3 separate regions of the Homo sapiens genome follow, and regions 1 and 2 are each linked to region 3. The links are contacts of gene promoters, found by promoter capture Hi-C in human tissues and cell types (Jung and others, 2019). All regions are on one chromosome and are shown on one strand. Each heading gives the region's core, a stretch centred on a gene start or on the middle of the fragment in contact. The rest is flanking DNA. Distances are from core to core; before and after follow the strand shown. Region 1 holds the start of LCMT2 (leucine carboxyl methyltransferase 2). Region 2 overlaps TP53BP1 (tumor protein p53 binding protein 1). Region 3 holds the start of PDIA3 (protein disulfide isomerase family A member 3).

Evidence for each region. The method cuts DNA at HindIII sites, captures the fragments that hold promoters and counts their contacts. A contact is called where the count stands out against the background at its distance.
Region 1: the fragment with the promoter of LCMT2 here is called in contact with the fragment with the promoter of PDIA3 in region 3 in 2 of the 25 tissues and cell types used here (liver and stomach).
Region 2: a fragment that was not itself captured here is called in contact with the fragment with the promoter of PDIA3 in region 3 in 1 of the 25 tissues and cell types used here (hippocampus).

Annotation. Positions count from the first base shown.
Region 1 is chr15:43,329,264-43,331,963 of GRCh38, reverse strand. It overlaps LCMT2 (leucine carboxyl methyltransferase 2), which reads left to right and starts at 1,391. Exons shown (of 1, transcript NM_014793.5): 1 at 1,391-2,700. The coding sequence starts at 1,475. MAPDA (N6-Methyl-AMP deaminase) reads right to left here and starts at 1,292. Exons shown (of 13, transcript NM_001324366.2): 1 at 1,105-1,292; 2 at 1-64. RefSeq lists enhancers at 1,251-1,300, 533-1,483. The HindIII fragment of the contact is 18,030 bases long and covers 1-2,700 here.
Region 2 is chr15:43,441,421-43,444,120 of GRCh38, reverse strand. TP53BP1 (tumor protein p53 binding protein 1) reads left to right here. Exons shown (of 28, transcript NM_001141980.3): 15 at 2,538-2,595. Among named protein-coding and RNA genes, the nearest start is that of TP53BP1, 50 kb to the left of the region's middle. RefSeq lists an enhancer at 1,504-2,107. The HindIII fragment of the contact is 4,843 bases long and covers 1-2,700 here.
Region 3 is chr15:43,745,170-43,747,869 of GRCh38, reverse strand. It overlaps PDIA3 (protein disulfide isomerase family A member 3), which reads right to left and starts at 1,432. Exons shown (of 13, transcript NM_005313.5): 1 at 1,164-1,432. The coding sequence starts at 1,330. It also overlaps the pseudogene CATSPER2P1. RefSeq lists enhancers at 807-856, 867-916 and a silencer at 1,417-1,716. The HindIII fragment of the contact is 12,404 bases long and covers 1-2,700 here.

The DNA.
Region 1 (2,700 bases), core at 142-2,641, 420 kb after region 3:
TCTCCCTCTCCACTAGCTGGTTTCCCTCACAGGACCAACACGCATGTGCAGTATTTGCTTCCACCTGAAAACAAAACAAAAGACTCTTTTATCCCACAATATTCTTTAGCCACTGCCCTGACCCTTTTTTCCTTCTGAGTTAAGCTCCTCGAAAGTATAATAATTTAGACTGGATACCTCCTTTAACTCACCTCCTATTCACTGAAACATGGATTCTGCCCTTATTGCTCCACAGAAACTGCTCTCCCTAAGGCCATTAATGAGCTTTTAAACACCAAATCTAAATGTCACTTTTCAATTACCGAATCTTTATCCTGATCCAAACCTTTTCTTTCTTATTTCATTTTGTTCCACAAGAAAACATTGGAAAATACGAAACTTTTTCTTGACTCCAGTATCCAAATCTGCTGGACTCCAAAACTCACACTCTTAACCATTATGCAGTACCACCTGTAGTTAACCATAAAGTTATCTGATTTCCTTTTCTATTTCAGCCAGTCAGTCACCAAATCCCAGTGAACAAATGATAAATTTCCTAAATGTCTCTGGAAGTGGTTTCCTATGGATGACTCCCAGACACCCAATTTAGAAACTTTATGATTATTCTGAAGTCTAACCTGGATTTACTCCTTAAAAACAAAGCTCAGAACATATCACAGGGAACAATCACCTCTCTTCAGTGACTCCCCTTTCTGGGGACATATTCAACACTACTTTAAAATCCACAGAATTCTCCAAGGCGGTGTGATGAGAAAGAGAGGCTGAGTGGTTTATTCACCGTCAGTCTAACATAGGGCTGGGAATACAAGGGAATCAACAGTCTACTATCTGTGGGGAAACGTCTTCTTGTTAGGTGTCTATAAATTATTTGTAAAGGTCGGTTTCTTCAGTTTGCACCCTGGCCTTAGTGACTTGTTTTCAAGTTTTAAATGGGGTTCTCTTTTGCAACTGTGAGAGCATTAAATAAATCAGCAACTATTAGCACCCAAGGAAGCTAACTAATCCTTGCCTACTGAAGGTCCGTGGTGCCGACCCTTCTTGGCTCCTACCAGACCCTTCCTTGGCGGTCCAAGGAAGCCAAGTCGTCAGTCCCCACAGACTCACCTCTTAGAGATTTCTCAACTACAAGGACTTAGGCAAGGTTTCCCTTTTGACTGGAAGGCTTGTAGAAACGTGACAACCCGCCTTCCCTAACACTCATGTCACAGCGGTAGCGGACCGTATTCTGGGACAAATGGAACTCACGACATTCCAAAGAAAGGTCAGCCGCAAGCGAACTTAGCACTGGCTACACCCTCCTCAATTCTGGTTGGCGAGATGCGCTCTTCCCGGAAGTGACGCACAAGTGCCGGCGGAAGGGGAAGTCCAGGAGCATGGGTGGTTTTTTTCCCCCTACCGAGGTCCGTGAGGTGTGTGCTAACCAAGGGGCGGCTCACAACCGTGACAGACTGCCATTCCTGAGTCTCTTCTGGCCATGGGCCCCCGGAGCCGTGAGCGTCGGGCAGGCGCGGTACAGAACACCAACGACAGCAGCGCCCTCAGCAAGCGTTCCCTGGCCGCGCGCGGGTACGTGCAGGACCCCTTTGCCGCGTTGCTGGTTCCGGGCGCGGCGCGCCGCGCACCGCTCATTCACCGAGGCTACTACGTCCGCGCACGCGCCGTGAGGCACTGCGTGCGCGCTTTTTTGGAGCAGATTGGCGCGCCCCAGGCCGCGCTTCGCGCGCAGATCTTGTCTCTCGGCGCTGGCTTCGACTCGCTCTATTTTCGCTTAAAAACCGCGGGCCGCCTGGCCCGGGCTGCAGTCTGGGAGGTGGATTTTCCGGACGTGGCGCGGCGCAAAGCAGAAAGGATTGGAGAGACGCCAGAGCTGTGCGCGTTAACCGGGCCTTTCGAGAGGGGGGAGCCCGCGTCCGCGCTGTGCTTTGAGAGCGCAGACTACTGCATCCTGGGTCTGGACTTGCGGCAGCTCCAGCGAGTGGAGGAGGCCCTGGGCGCCGCGGGGCTCGACGCAGCCTCACCCACTCTGCTCCTGGCCGAGGCGGTGCTGACCTACCTCGAGCCGGAGAGTGCCGCGGCCCTCATCGCCTGGGCAGCCCAGCGTTTTCCTAATGCCCTTTTCGTGGTCTATGAGCAGATGAGGCCTCAAGACGCCTTTGGCCAGTTCATGCTGCAACATTTTCGGCAGCTAAACTCCCCCCTGCATGGCCTGGAGCGTTTTCCTGACGTGGAGGCGCAGCGGCGCCGCTTCCTTCAAGCTGGCTGGACCGCCTGCGGTGCCGTGGACATGAATGAATTCTATCACTGCTTTCTTCCCGCAGAAGAACGCCGGCGGGTGGAAAATATTGAACCCTTTGACGAATTTGAGGAGTGGCATCTGAAGTGCGCCCATTATTTCATTCTGGCAGCTTCTAGGGGAGACACCCTCTCCCACACCCTAGTGTTTCCATCCTCAGAGGCATTTCCTCGCGTAAATCCTGCTTCGCCTTCAGGGGTATTCCCTGCCAGCGTAGTCAGTAGCGAGGGCCAGGTCCCAAACCTGAAGAGATATGGCCACGCCTCTGTCTTCTTGAGCCCAGACGTTATTCTCAGTGCAGGAGGATTTGGAGAGCAGGAGGGGCGGCACTGCCGAGTGAGCCAGTTTCACTTGCTCTCAAGAGATTGTGACTCTGAATGGAAAGGCAGCCAAATAGGCAGTTGTGG
Region 2 (2,700 bases), core at 43-2,542, 300 kb after region 3:
CAGTGTTACTTACATCATTTCATCCTTACAACAAACTTTTTAGGTTTGTTGTGTTTTTATCTTATAGAGGAGGACACTGAGACTCAAAATGACAAAGTAGTTTACTCCTAGGTTGGACTATTAAGTGCAATAGCCAGGGTGTGAGCCAGGTTTCTATTTCAGAGCCAGGGCTCCAACTGAATTTCAGCTGCCTCCCTGATGGACTGTTTAGATTATGTTGGGTCATGAATATTTTAGAAATAATTAAAAACCATTTAAGGGTTGTTTTCTCTAAGGCTGGTATAAATTGTAAATGAACAAATTTTAATCCCTTGAAATTAGTGACATTGTTGTGAGAATATGGGATTTTTTTCAGTACGACCTTTAATCTGTTGCTGCATGTTCTTGAAAATGTCCTTTTTGTTTCTTTTTGTTGTTATTGTTGTTGAGACAGGGCTTCTCCCTGTCACCCAGGCTGGAGTGCAATGGGGTGATCTCAGCTCACTGCAGCCTCCATCTCCCAGGCTCAAGCGATCCTCCCATCTTAGCCCCCTGAGTAGGTGGGACTACAGGCACGCCCACCACCCATGCCTGGTTAATTTTTGTATTTATTATAGAGATGGGGCTTCGCCATGTTAGCCAGGCTGGTGTTGAACTCCTGGGCTCAAGCGATCCTCCTGCCTTGGCCTCTCAAAGTATTGGGATTACATGAGTGAGCCACCGTGCCTGGCCACCCTTTGTTTTTGAAGTGTCTGTCCTAAAGCACTTTGGGAAGAACTTGGGTACCTTCTATTTGTGGGTGCTCTAAAAACTATTTAAAATTAGTTCATCAACCTAAAATATTTTCTACTTATTTTATTAAGTTCTTTTATTTTTAATTTGTTTTTAATATGATATAAATTTTAAAAAGTTTTTGGTTTTTAATTTTGTATTATTACATACTTTTTTAACTTCTTATATGGGCAGAGATGAATTTGGATTCAGAAGTTTAATTTTCATTTAAGAATGTTACTGCTGGCCGGGTGTGGTGGCTCATGCCTGTAATCCCAGCACTTTGGGAGGCTGAGGTGGGTGGATCACCTGAGGTCAGGAGTTCGAGACCAGCCTGGCCAAGATGGTGAAACCCCATCTCTACTAAAAATATAAAAATTAGCCGGACATGGTGGCAGGTACCTGTAATCCCAGCTACTCGGGAGGCTAAGGCAGCAGAATCTCTTGAACCCGAGAGGCGGAGGTTGCAGTGAGCTGAGATCATGCCACTGCACTCCAGCCTGAGCAACAGAGTGAGATTCTGTCTCCAAAAAAAAAAAAAAAAAAAAAAAAAAAGAATATTACTGCTAAGGGCTAGGTGTCGTAGCTCGTATGTGTAATCCCAGCACACTTTGGGAACCTGAGGCGGGTGAATCACCTGAGGTCGGAAGTTTGAGACCAGCCTGGTCAACATGGTGAAACCCCATCTCTACTAAAAATACAAAAATTAGCTGGGTGTGGTGGTGCACACCTGTAATCCCAGCTACTCAGGAGGGTGAGGCATGAGAATCGCTTGAACCCAGGAGACACAGGTTGCAGCAAGTCGAGATTACGCCGCTGCACTCTAGCCTGGGCAACGGAGTAAGACTCTGTCTCCAAAAAAAAAAAAAGTTACTCATTGTATTGTATTTCTTGCCAATCTTATTAGTCTTTTATAGGAAGTTTGAAAGAAAATTGATTGGTGGAAGTGAGAAAAACTTGTACCATTAAATTACAAGAAATAGCCAGCCGGGCACAGTGGCTCTTGCCTGTAATCCCAGCACTTTGGGAGACCGAGGCGGGCGGATCACGAGGTCAGGAGATTGAGACCATCCTGGCTAACACGGTGAAACCCCGTCTCGACTAAAAATACAAAAAAATTAGCCGGGCGTGGTGGCGGGCACCTGTAGTTTCAGCTGCTGGGGAGGCTGAGGCAGGAGAATGGCGTGAACCCGGGAGGCAGAGCTTGCAGTGAGCCGAGATTGCGCCACTGCACTCCAGCCTGGGCGACAGAGTGAGACTCTGTCTCAAAAAAAAAAAAAAAAAAAAATTAAAACAAATCTGGCCTGCACTGCAGCCTGGGTGACAGAGCGAGACTGTTGTCTCAAAACAAACAAACAAAAAACAAGAAATCTGGCAGATCACTTGATTTCAGGAGTTTGAGACCAGCTTGGGAAACTTGGCAAAACCCTGTCTTTCCTAAAAAATACAAAAAATTAGCTGGACGTGGTGGCGCATGCCTGTAGTCCCAGCTACTCGGGAGGTTGAGGCAGGAGATCGCTTGAACCCAGGAGGCGGAGGTTGCAGTGAGCTGAGATCACGCTACTGCCCTCCAGCTTGGGTGATAGAGTGAGACTGTCTCAAAATAAAGAAATAAATAAATAAAATTACAAGAAATGTTTGTATGTTTATACTTACTAGTTTTACTTATTTTTATTTCTTTTTGTTATTTTTTGCAAATACTAGTAGAGCAGAGTGAAGGTTTAGGTGTGATACTAACTAAATTCTGTTTCTCTTTCCTTTCTCTCCTTGGTTTTGTTTTTATTCAGAGCCTGCAACTGGTGAAAGAAAAAATGGATCTACTGCTGTTGCTGAGTCTGTTGCCAGGTAACCAAAGCTGGATGCTATTTAGAGTTTAATACACAGCTACTGGTGATGAGGGTAGATGGTTTATCAACAAAGGAAAAAAGTTAAAATGAGAAAGTTAAAATG
Region 3 (2,700 bases), core at 183-2,682:
ACATCATTCTGATTCAGGTGGTCTTTACTACAGGACTTTTTTCGTGTAACCCTTAGCAAGTTGTTTGAGGCTAAGAAGGGAAGACCTGAGTCTGAAGCAAATAAAAGTTATACACAACTTTTACTGACATTTTTGAACACGGATAGTATTAAACCAAGGGTCACTGTGCCAGGAGGGGAAAAATTAAGTACTGTAATTATATATATTGAATTATATATAGAGAGCTATCCCCAGGATAAAGGAATCACTGTTTACTCTGGTAATGATCTGGAGGTTTAAAAACACACACACACACAAATAAAAAAAAAAAACAAACACTCAAGTTGACTGGGCCAGAAATCTTATTTGCTCTTCCTTCTCCCCAACAGTTTTTTATTTCGAGTTAGTTCTATCTAAGGAATTTACACCCTTGATCACTTAAGTCACCCTAAAGTGGAGTATGTAATCAATATTGGTTATTTTCTCATTGGAGTCTTTTTTGACATTTTAAAGAAATGCTATTTAAAACAGACAATATGGACAGATTCTGATGGAATTATTCTTGTTCACGTACTCCTTTCGTTTGGACAGAGGTATCTGCCGGTACTGAGATGTAAGTGATCAGCTGAAGGGAGAAACTGTACACCATGTGACGGACAAATTACCTGCCTCAAGAAAGCACTTACGACCATTCTGCAGCCACTCAGTGACCTTGGCTAGAAACCAATGGCTGTGCGGCGTGAGGTAAGATGAAAGGAAATACCCTAGGGATCCAGGACTTCTGCATTTGGTGAAACGTCCGCTTCCACTACAAGGCTTTGGGATGCCTAGTCTGTAGACTGGAGGAGCATTAATACTGACTCACGCAGAAAAGATATAGCTACATATTGGACTGGGGGAAGGGGTGGCAAAACCCTCTGCAAATAGGAAGTGCCACAAGAGCACCGAGATAAGGATGAGGCCCTGCGTGAGCGCAGCCTTCGGGTTTTCCTTGGGCCGATCAGCACCGACTCCCCCGCTCTCGGCGAGGCGCCTCCAGCTCCCGGGAATGAGAAATGTGCCCGCCGCAGCAGGGGCCCACAGGAATGAAGGGCCCCGGCGCTGCGTAGGCCCAACAGTTCCCCGCGCTCTCGCCCCCGGCCCAGCCCCGCCTTTCTTCCCCCGCCTCGGCAGAATGGACTCACCAGGGGGCGAAGAACTCGACGAGCATGAGGCCCGCAGAGCCCGTGTCGGAGATGCGACTCTCGAAGTTGTCGTCCGTGAGTTCTAGCACGTCGGAGGCAGCGGCGAGGCGGGCCGCGGCAAGAAGCAGCGCCACACCCGGGAACAGCGCTAGGCGGCGGAGGCGCATGGCGGCGAGGTGGGGTGGGGACGGCCGGAAGGGTCGCGGCTCGGCTGGGACTGCGGAGGTCGGGCGCGCGACCACTAACCCGCTGCTTGCGCTCGCGCGTCTGGCCCAGGCGGACCTGCAGCCGGAGGTCCCAACCCCCAAACCCGGCTTGGGCCGCTGTGTGGCAGCCGCTGATTGGCTGCGCGTCGCCTTCGTCGGGCGGGCGGGACCAACTCGTTACCGCCGAGTGGCCGGAGCGCGGGGCGGGGCCGAGGCGGCGAGTGTCTGGGCGAGCGTGGCTGGGCCCGGTCCTGGGCTGGGGGCAGGGGCTAGGGCCGGGTCCCGGGGTGAGCCGAAACCTGGGGGTCGGGCGGGGCGGGAAATGGGGCGCAGTGAGGCTGGGAGCCGGCCCTGAGCTCGTCCTGCGTAGGGGTAGCCGGGCTCAGGGGGCGCCTGAGCTGGAGGTGGAAGCGTGAAGTCAGGACTGAGTGGGCGAAGAGAACCTGGGCTGAGGTGAGGCCCAGAAGCGAGAATGGAGGAGAGAAGGAGCTAGCCCCCGAAGGAGTGTTGGAGTGGACACACTTGGGACGGGACCCATTTTCAAAATGTCAGGCTTTGGCATTTTGTCCAATTTCTCTTCACTTGGTTTCTCTTGCGTGGGCAGGCCAAGCCCTCCCCCAACTCCACCTCATTGCCCGATTCTCTCAGGCCCAGGTGGGACCCAGGTTCTTCTTTGTCCAGCCCCGGGCCCCTGCCCTTGTGGCTGCTCCTTTTTTATTGAGTTTCTTGTTTTGTTTTGTTTTGTTTTGTCTGAGATGCCGTCTTGCTCTGTCCCCCACGCTGGAGTGCAGTGGCGCGATCTCCGCTCACTGCAAGCTCTGCCTCCCGGGTTCACGCCATTCTCCTGCCTCAGCTTCCCGAGTAGCTGGGCCTACAGGCGCCCGCCACCACGCCCGGCTAATTTTTTGTATTTTTAGTAGAGACCGGGTTTCACCGTGTTAGCCAGGATGGTCTCTATCTCCTGACCTCGTGATCCGCTCGCCTCGGCATTCCAAAGTGCTGGAATTACAGGCGTGAGCCACCACGCCCGGACTTTTTTTTTTTTTTTTTTTTTTTTTAATGAGCTTTTAATTGGTAGTGCCGTCACAAAGTGAAGATGCCTGGCCACTTGGTCGACTGCTCAATGTCTTTACCACTCTTAGCCCCTTTTGTTTCAAAAAACCCTGAGTCTTAGTAGAATGTTTGTTCTGCCCAACTGCTCCTAGTTCGTAGATGTGGGTACATTAAGGAATCTTAAGGGCAAAGAGGGTGGGGAGGAGGGGACAGAAAACCTGTAATCCTTGGTGCAGCTCCAAGAATGAAATGACACTTGATGCTTACATTTTCTTAGC